2 separate regions of the Homo sapiens genome follow, and region 2 is linked to region 1. Evidence: promoter capture Hi-C in 16 types of primary human blood cells and fetal thymus (Javierre and others, 2016). All regions are on one chromosome and are shown on one strand. The core of a region is centred on a gene start or on the middle of the fragment in contact, and the rest is flanking DNA. Distances in the headings are between cores, read along the strand shown.

Region 1 (4,746 bases), core at 1,328-3,827:
AGGAGTACAGATTAGTATCCTTAGGAAAAGAGATGAGTATCTATCACTTTCAGATGTCATTCAGTATTTTTTCCATAATAAACTATTCAGTAAACAAAAGATCATATCTGACTACTTCTAGATGTTGCCAAACTTATCCCAAAGGATTCAGCGTTAATCTGTCAAATCCAGATAACACAAAACAGAACAGAGTTATCCACCATCACAAATTCCCCAACCTGCAAAGGAGAGGAGCTGATGTGCTGGTGAATCTTTGTAAATCACTAATTTCTGCTTATCTACCATGCCTTTTTTTATTATGTATTTTTTGAGATGGAGTCTCGCTCTGTCGCGCAGGCTGGAGTGCAGTGGCGCGATCTCCAGCTCACTGCAAGCTCCGCCTCCCGGATTCACGCCATTCTCCTGCCTCAGCCTCCAGAATATCTGGGACTACAGGCGCTCGCCACCACGCCTGGCTAATTTTTTTGTATTTTTAGTAGAGACGGGGTTTCCCCGTGTTAGCCAGGATGGTCTCGATCTCCTGACCTCGTGATCTGCCTGCCTCTGCCTCCCAAAGTGTTGGGATTACAGGCGTGAGCCATCGCGCCCGACCTACCATGCCTTTTTTTTGTGGGAATGTATTCATATTCTGCAGCCATAATGGAAGATTTCCTTTTTTTTTTTTAAAGACAGGGTCTCACTCTGTCGTTCAGTGCAGTGGCGCAATCACAGCTAACGGCAGTCTCAACCTCCCCGGGTTCAGGTGGCTCTCCCACCTCAGTCTCCTGAGTAGCTGAGACTACAGGCATGCGCCACCATACCCGGCTAATTTTTGTATTTGTTGTAGAAATGGGGTCTCGCCACTTTGCCCAGGATGGTCTCAAACTTCTGGGCTCAAGAGATCTTCCCGCCCCAGCCTCCCAAAGTGCTGGAATTACAGGCGTGAGCCACCTGGGCAGGAGAATCGCTTTTGACTTCCAGAGCAGACTGGGCAACATAGTGAGACCTTGTCTCTACAAAAAATAAAAACTAGCCGGGCGTGGCGCATGCCTGTGGTCCCAGCTTCTTGGAAGACTGAGGCAGGAGGATTGCTTGGGCCCCAGAGGTTGAGGCCGTAGTAAGCCATGACTGTGCCACTGCATGCCACCCTGAGCTGCCTCAGAAGGGAGAAGTTTCTTTCTACTGTTTCTGGCCCCACCCCACCCCCAAGGGCCAGCAGGGAATCCCTCTGGAATTTCCTAAGGAAACTTCTTTTCAAAAGACAAGAACTCCTCCCTAGGAGGCTCATCAAACAACCAGGAAAGATTAACCACGCCAGGACAGACTTTTCACCCGTTCTTCCGAGGGCAGCTGGAAGAAGTCCCTGGACGGTCCTGAAACCCAGGACCAGAAAGATAGGAGGGTGGGCTGAGGACCCAATACCCTGTGAAGTTCCCAAGAGAAGCCTCCACCCAAAGACTGTCTGATAAGGTGGCCGCGCCTAGGGAAGGTAAAAAGAGGGCAGGCACAGTGATTTTTTTTTTTTAACATCGGAGTGTCAGGGGGTTATTTTCTGCTTTGCTCGCATGTGAAATGTTCACAAACGGAAAATGAACTTTTTAAGAAGTGCCATCTAGGGCTCCTTGGAAAAGATGACAGTTAAAACACTGGGTCTTGCCAGGCGCAGTGGCTCAAGCCTGTAATCCCAGCACTTTGGGAGACCGAGGCAGGCAGATACCTGAGATCAGGACTTCAGCACGGCCAACATGGTGAACCTGTCTCTACTGAAAATACAAGTTAGCCGGACGTGGTGGCGGGCACCTGTAATTCCAGCTACTCAGGAGGCTGAGGCAGGAGAATCACTTGAACCCGGAAGACGGAGGCTGCAGTGAGCCCAGACAGTGCCACTGCACTCCAGCCTGGGCGACAGAGTGAGACTCCGTCTCAAAAATAATAGAAATAATGATAATAATAATAATGTGAAGTGGATGTACTGGAGGGAGAACTTAGGGTTGGGGAATGCGGGGAAATTTAGGGATTTACTGCAGCCCTGGGAGGAGCGAAGCTGGGGGACGGGGTCGTGGGTTTGAAACCCAGCTTCCCACACCTTTGGAAGACTCCGAAGGAAACGGGGACCGCCTAAGGGAGGAGGAACTGGGGACCCCACAGGCCACGGCTCCTCCCGCACGAACCCCACACCCGAGGCGGGATTCCCCCTAAGACCCTCCTGAGGCCCCCGCACGATCTGGGGAGACGCGGGGCTGCGGGCGCGGAGCTGCCCTGAGAGGGCTCCGGGGCCGGGACAGGACACCCGGGGTCCCGGCGGCTGGTCCAGCTCCACCCGGCGACCGAGGGGACCAAGGGTCGAGCTGCGCCTGGGGGACTCGGGTCCCAGACCCCCACAGTCGCCGCGGGGAGGCCCAGGTCCAGCCACTGCCGGTTCCGACCAGCTCCTCCTCAGGTCTCCGGACGCCCGGCTCCGCACGCTCACCATTTCCGGCTTCCGGGTGTCCTGGGTCCTTCCTGGGGCTGGAGCAGCCAGAACAGGTCCCACACGACAAAATCAGCCGTATCCGGGGCACCAGGGGCTCCCCGAGGAACTAAAACCCGGACCCGAATGGGGGGCCGGCGGGAAATGAGACCGCTTCGGGCTTTGGAAGTTGCCCCTCCTCCCGGCGCACCTGATTGGACAGTTTGCCGCACAGCGCCTCTGACTGGCTGGTGCCCCAGGTCCCGCCCCTGGGGCTTGAGCGACAGGAGAGGTGATCGGAATCCTCAAATAATCCGCTCGCTGTGTGGGGTGTGACTGACAGGTGCTACCCACAGCCCCTCGCTGGGACCTTGGACCTGGACTTGCATGGAAGCAGAACTTGCTCCCGTTAGGGTCAACCCAACCAGACTGTTCCCCTCCTTCCCCCATCAGTCTTACAATACAGTCCTTTGTGACCGCCACACAACTCCCCCCGGGCTAGAAGTAGACCTCCTCCCCACTGACCCTTCCAGTAACTGTTTGTTCAAAAGACTTCAGCTGAACCGGCAGACAGTTCCAGGATGCGGTCACAACACCTGCCCACCTTGCATAACAAAGCTGGCAAAAACATCTCCAGGATGCGGTCAGGACACCTGCACCCCCGACTCAGTTCTCACACCCCAGCCCAGTTCCTCGCCCTATAAAGCCCTGCTGTAGTCTGTAAGCGGGGCTGCCTCCTCTAACTGTGGGGGAGCAGCCCAGCAGGTTAATAAAACTTACTTGACTGACTTCAGGTCTCTTCGTCCTTTCGGCTGACCTTACAGCTCCTGGTTTTCCGGAGCAGGCCCTGTCGGCTTCCTGTACTCAGTGGGTCCTTCCTGCTGCTTTTTTTTTTTTTTTTTGAGACGGAGTTTCGCTCTTGTTGCCCAGGCTGGAATGCAATGGCACGATCTCAGCTAACTGCAACCTCCGCTTTCCGGTTTCAAGCGATTCTCCTGCCTCAGCCTCCCGGGTAGCTGCGATTACAGGCGCCCACCACCACTCCCGGCTAATTTTTGTATTTTTAGTAGAAATGGGGTTTCACCATGTTGGCCAGGCTGGTCTCGAACTCCTGATCTCGTGATCCGCCGGCCTCGGCCTCTCAAAGTGCTGGGATTACAGGCGTGAGCCACCGCGCCCAGCCGCCTCCTGCTTCTTTTTCCGGAACACCGGTCACATGAGTGTGCACGGAATTCCAGACTCCGTGTTCAGTGAAGCCATCCCTCCACCTTGGAGCTGGAGAGACTCCCAGGTCACAATGGAACAGGTAGGAGGCCCTGATGTCCTCCAGAGATCAGGAATTTATGAGGCTATTGGTCCCATGGCCAAGGCTTCCTACACGTTACTTCTTCTCAGGCTACTCCTTTTCAGCCAAGAAAATAAAAACATGCCTTAAAGGGAACAAAATTATTAAATGCAGGGAAAAACTGGAGTAAACCACTTTTTTTTTCTTTTTTTTTGAGACGGAGTCTGGCTCTGTCGCCCAGGCTGGAGTGCAGTGGCACGATCTCAGCTCATTGCAACCTCTGCCTCCCAGGTTCAAGAGATTCTCTTGCCTCAGCCTCCCGAGTCCGAGTAGCTGGAACTACAGGCATGTGCCACCATGCCCGGCCAATTTTTTTTTTTTTTTTTTTTTTTTGTATTTTTAGTAGAGACGGGGTTTCACCGTGTTAGCCAGGATGGTCTCGATCTCCTGAACTCGTGATCTGCCCGCCTTGGCCTCCCAAAGTGCTGGGATTACAGGCATGAGCCACCGTGCCCGGCCTGGAGTAAACATTCTATAAAGGTATTGCTACCAGAAAGGGGTCCAGTCCCAGACTCCAAGAGCAGAAGCTTGGACCTTGTATGGGAAAGAATTAATATTGGAGAAAAAACTGAAAAAGTAAGTATATCGAACTGTATCATGGGACAGAAACATGTCATTCCTATTTTTACTGAAGATTATCTTATTTGATACTATGTGATTATTAAGTCCTATTACATTTCCTTTCTCCTTTTACGAAGTCATGTATCTTAATAATATGCAGCCGGGCACGGTGGCTCAGCCTGTAATCCCAGCACTCTGGGAGGCCCAGGCAGGCGGATCATGAGGTCAGGAGTAGGAGACCAGCCTGCCCAACATGGTGAAACACCGTCTCTACTAAAATTACAAAAATTAGCCAGGTGTGGTGGCGCATGCCTGTAATCCTAGCTACTAAGAAGGCTGAGGCAGGAGAACTGCTTGAACCCAGGAGGAGGAGGTTGCAGTGAGCCGAGATCACAGCATTGCGCCTGGGCGA
Region 2 (4,573 bases), core at 1,969-4,468, 43 kb before region 1:
GGTGAAACCCCGTCTCTACTAAAAATACAAAAAATTAGATAGGTATGGTACACACCTGTAGTCCCAGCTACTTAGGAGGCTGGGGCACGAGAATCATTTGAGCTCCAGAGGCAGAGGTTGCAGTGAGCCAAGATCGCACCACTGAACTCCAGCCTGGGCAATAAAGCAAGACTCTGTCTCAAAAAAAAAAAAAAAAGAAAAAGAAAAAGGAAAAAGAAAAAAATAGAAGTAATTTCTGTGTGTTCATGACAGCATGAATTTTATGAGGAAGTCAGTGTGGACAGTCGTAGTTCTGACAGCTGAGTCATACACCAAATGTTTGGAGAACACAGAATTGTATGGGAACTTCTTACAAATCAAGTATAGATCCCCAGTACTGCCAGTCTTACCCATCCTCTGTAAACATATGTGGAATGTTTCAGGACTCAGTCTCCTTTGAGGATGTGGCCGTGAACTTCACCCTGGAGGAGTGGGCTTTGCTGGATTCTTCACAGAAAAAGCTCTATGAAGATGTGATGCAGGAGACCTTCAAAAACCTGGTTTGTCTAGGTAAGGATATCAACATTTCTTTCCTCAGTTAAATATAGAACACAGAACAAGTGTTTCTTGCTCAACAGCTGTGTTCCAAGATTTGAAATGTGGAAAGGGAATCTTTCAGTGATTGAATCAGACAGTCACAGCTAATCATGAAACTAGACTGTAACAATTTTCTATAATTTCTAATAATTTTTAATGGTCTTTCTGGGTATGCATTTTAGGAAAAAAGTGGGAAGACCAGGACATTGAAGATGACCACAGAAACCAGGGGAAAAATCGAAGGTGAGTTGCATCCACAGAAAAATAGTGGCCCGTGGGGGAATTTCAAAAGAAAGCAAGCAAAACAATTAAGCACAGCTTCAAATTTATTTATTCCTAGAAAACTTTCACTGAAAATGTTTTCTTAAAAACATCATAGATGTTCAGGATGTGAAAAATAAATCACTTCGAAATAGCATTTAGAAACCCCTTTTATAAATATTATTATTTTGGCCAGGCACAATAGTTCATGTAGGTAATCCCAGCAGTTTGGGAGGCTGAGGTAGGAGGATCACTTGAGGCCTGGAATTCAAGACCAGCCTGGGTAATATAGCAAGACCTCATCTGGGGAAAAAAAAAAAAAAAGGCCTGGCACAGTGGCTCATGCCTGTAATCCTAGCACTTTGGGAGGCCAAGGCAGGCAGATCATCTGAGGTCAGGAGTTCAAGACCAGCCTGGCCAACATGGCAAAACCCCATCTCTACTAAAAATACAAAAATTAGCCAGCTGTGGTGGTGTGCTCCTATAATCCCAGCTACCCAGGAGGCTGAGGCAGGAAAATTGCTGGAACCCAGGAGGCAGAAGCTGCAGTGAGCCTAGATCGTGCCACTGTACTCCAGCCTGGGCAACAGAGCAAGACTCCATCTTGGAAAAAAAAAAAAAATTAGCCAGGCATGGTGGCACTCTCTAGTCCCACCTGCTCAGGAGGCTGAGATGGGAGGATTGGTTGAGCCCAGGAATTCAAGGCTTCAGTGAGCTGTGATCATGCCACTGTACTCCAGCCTGGGTGAGAGAATGAGACTCCATCTCTTATTTAAACAACAACAACAAAAAAATTGACTGTTTTGATCATAACTATGGTTGAGTCTTCTTCCAGAGCATTGAATATATTAACTTTAAAACAATTCAGACAGGGCAGATATCCTATACTTTTTCTGAAAATGGTTAAAATGTAATTCTCATACCTACTAATAAATACAAAATAATTAAAAAGCCACTAATAATGTGCTATTCATTTTTTACAGATGTCATATGGTTGAGAGACTCTGTGAAAGTAGAAGAGGTAGCAAATGTGGAGAAACCACTAGCCAGATGCCAAATGTTAATATCAACAAGGAAACTTTTACTGGAGCAAAACCACATGAATGCAGCTTTTGTGGAAGAGACTTCATTCATCATTCGTCCCTTAATAGGCACATGAGATCTCACACTGGACAGAAACCAAATGAGTATCAGGAATATGAAAAGCAACCATGTAAATGTAAAGCAGTTGGGAAAACCTTCAGTTATCACCACTGCTTTCGCAAACATGAAAGAACTCACACTGGAGTGAAGCCCTATGAATGTAAACAGTGTGGGAAAGCCTTTATATATTACCAGCCATTTCAAAGACATGAAAGGACTCATGCTGGACAGAAACCCTATGAATGTAAGCAATGTGGAAAAACCTTTATATATTACCAGTCTTTTCAAAAACATGCTCATACTGGAAAGAAACCCTATGAATGTAAACAGTGTGGGAAAGCCTTTATATGTTACCAATCTTTTCAAAGACACAAAAGGACTCACACTGGAGAGAAACCCTATGAATGTAAGCAATGTGGTAAGGCTTTCAGTTGTCCCACATACTTTCGAACTCATGAAAGAACTCACACTGGAGAAAAACCCTACAAATGTAAAGAATGTGGTAAAGCCTTCAGTTTTCTCAGTTCTTTTCGAAGGCATAAAAGGACTCATAGTGGAGAGAAACCCTATGAATGTAAAGAATGTGGAAAAGCCTTCTTTTATTCTGCAAGCTTTCGAGCACATGTAATAATACACACTGGGGCTCGACCTTATAAATGTAAAGAATGTGGGAAAGCCTTCAACTCTTCTAATTCCTGTCGAGTGCATGAAAGAACTCATATTGGAGAAAAACCATATGAATGTAAACGATGTGGCAAATCATTCAGTTGGTCCATTTCTCTTCGATTGCATGAAAGAACTCATACTGGAGAGAAACCTTATGAGTGTAAACAGTGTCATAAAACCTTCAGTTTTTCAAGTTCCCTTCGAGAACACGAAACAACTCACACTGGAGAGAAACCCTATGAATGTAAACAATGTGGTAAAACCTTCAGTTTTTCAAGTTCCCTTCAAAGACATGAAAGGACTCACAATGCAGAGAAACCCTATGAATGTAAACAGTGTGGGAAAGCCTTCAGGTGTTCAAGTTATTTTCGAATTCATGAAAGGTCACACACTGGAGAGAAACCCTATGAATGTAAACAGTGTGGAAAAGTTTTCATTCGTTCCAGTTCCTTTCGACTGCATGAAAGAACACACACTGGAGAGAAACCCTATGAATGTAAACTATGCGGTAAAACCTTCAGTTTTTCAAGTTCCCTTCGAGAACATGAAAAAATTCACACTGGAAATAAGCCTTTTGAGTGTAAGCAATGTGGTAAGGCCTTCCTTCGTTCCAGTCAAATTCGATTGCATGAAAGGACTCACACTGGAGAGAAACCGTATCAATGTAAACAATGTGGAAAAGCCTTCATTTCTTCCAGTAAATTTCGAATGCATGAGAGAACTCACACGGGAGAGAAACCCTATCGATGTAAACAATGTGGGAAAGCCTTCAGATTTTCAAGTTCTGTTCGAATTCATGAAAGGTCTCACACTGGAGAGAAACCTTATGAATGCAAACAATGTGGAAAAGCCTTCATTTCTTCCAGTCACTTTCGACTGCATGAAAGGACTCATATGGGAGAGAAAGTCTAAGAATATAAGCAACATTCTGAAGCCTTCGGTTGTTCCAGCTCCTTCTGAATACACAAAAGAGTTCATACTGGACAGAAGCTGTGTGAATACAAACATTGTTCTAAAGCCCTTAATTGTTCCAGTTTCTTTTGAGCACGAAAGAATTCCCACTGGTGAGAAACAGTATGAATGTAAACATTGTGATTAAGCCTTCAGTTGACCTAATTCATTTCAAAGACAGGACTCGTGCTGCAGTGAAATCTGTTTTGTTTTTTGTTTTTTGTTTTTTTAAAAAAGGCCAAGCTTGTTGGCTCATGCCTATAGTCCCAGCACTTTGGGAGGCCAAGGTGCAAGGCAGGCAGATCATTTGAGGTCAGAAATTCGAGACCAGCGTGGTCAACATGGTGTAACCCCATCTCTACTAAAAATTACCAAAAAATGAACCAGGCATGGTAGTGCATGCCTCTAATCCCAGCTACTCAGGAGGCTAAGGCAGGAGAATCACTTGAACCTGGAGACAGAGGTTGCAGTGAGCTGAGATCACGCCACTGCATTCCAGCCTGTGCGACAGAATGAGACACTGTCTCAAGAAAAAATAAAAGTGGGAAAATCTTCCAACTGTCCTCTAGAGTGTGAATATATGAAAGGAGTCAGAGTGGGGTGAAAGTCTATAAATGTAAGACATTTGGGAAAGCCTTCACACAGCCTTTTGAGCACACATGAGAATGTATACTGGAGAGAAACCCTATAAATATTAAGAATGTGGGAAATTCTTCATCCTAGTTCTTTTGTTGTTGTTGATGATACAAAAATATTTTCATTTAATAAAGATTGTCAGGTTATATTTAATAAGAAAGAAAGTATCATGTAAACAGCCCAGTAATAAAATTTTACAATCTTATAAATTATAACATTTTTCTTTAAAACTGGAACATATTCTCATTATGCTTTCCAAAGGACATATTGATTTAGATGTGACTCATTCTTCAGTGGATTCTACAGAAGAAACCATATGAGAGCTAATTTCCAATTCAGC

The links. The method cuts DNA at HindIII sites, captures the fragments that hold promoters and counts their contacts. A CHiCAGO score of 5 or more calls a contact.
Region 2: a contact is called between a fragment that was not itself captured here and the fragment with the promoter of ZNF101 in region 1, in 2 of 17 cell types (non-activated CD4 T cells and naive CD8 T cells). The highest score is 6.1, in non-activated CD4 T cells.

Annotation. Positions count from the first base shown.
Region 1 is chr19:19,666,670-19,671,415 of GRCh38, reverse strand. It overlaps ZNF101 (zinc finger protein 101), which reads right to left and starts at 2,577. Exons shown (of 4, transcript NM_033204.4): 1 at 2,450-2,577. The coding sequence starts at 2,452. RefSeq lists enhancers at 1,756-2,321, 2,322-2,888 and a silencer at 2,168-2,367. The HindIII fragment of the contact is 10,038 bases long and covers 1-4,302 here.
Region 2 is chr19:19,710,337-19,714,909 of GRCh38, reverse strand. It overlaps ZNF14 (zinc finger protein 14), which reads left to right. Exons shown (of 4, transcript NM_021030.3): 2 at 423-549; 3 at 759-819; 4 at 1,821-4,438. The coding sequence ends at 3,558. Among named protein-coding and RNA genes, the nearest start is that of ZNF14, 20 kb to the left of the region's middle. The HindIII fragment of the contact is 1,249 bases long and covers 2,594-3,842 here.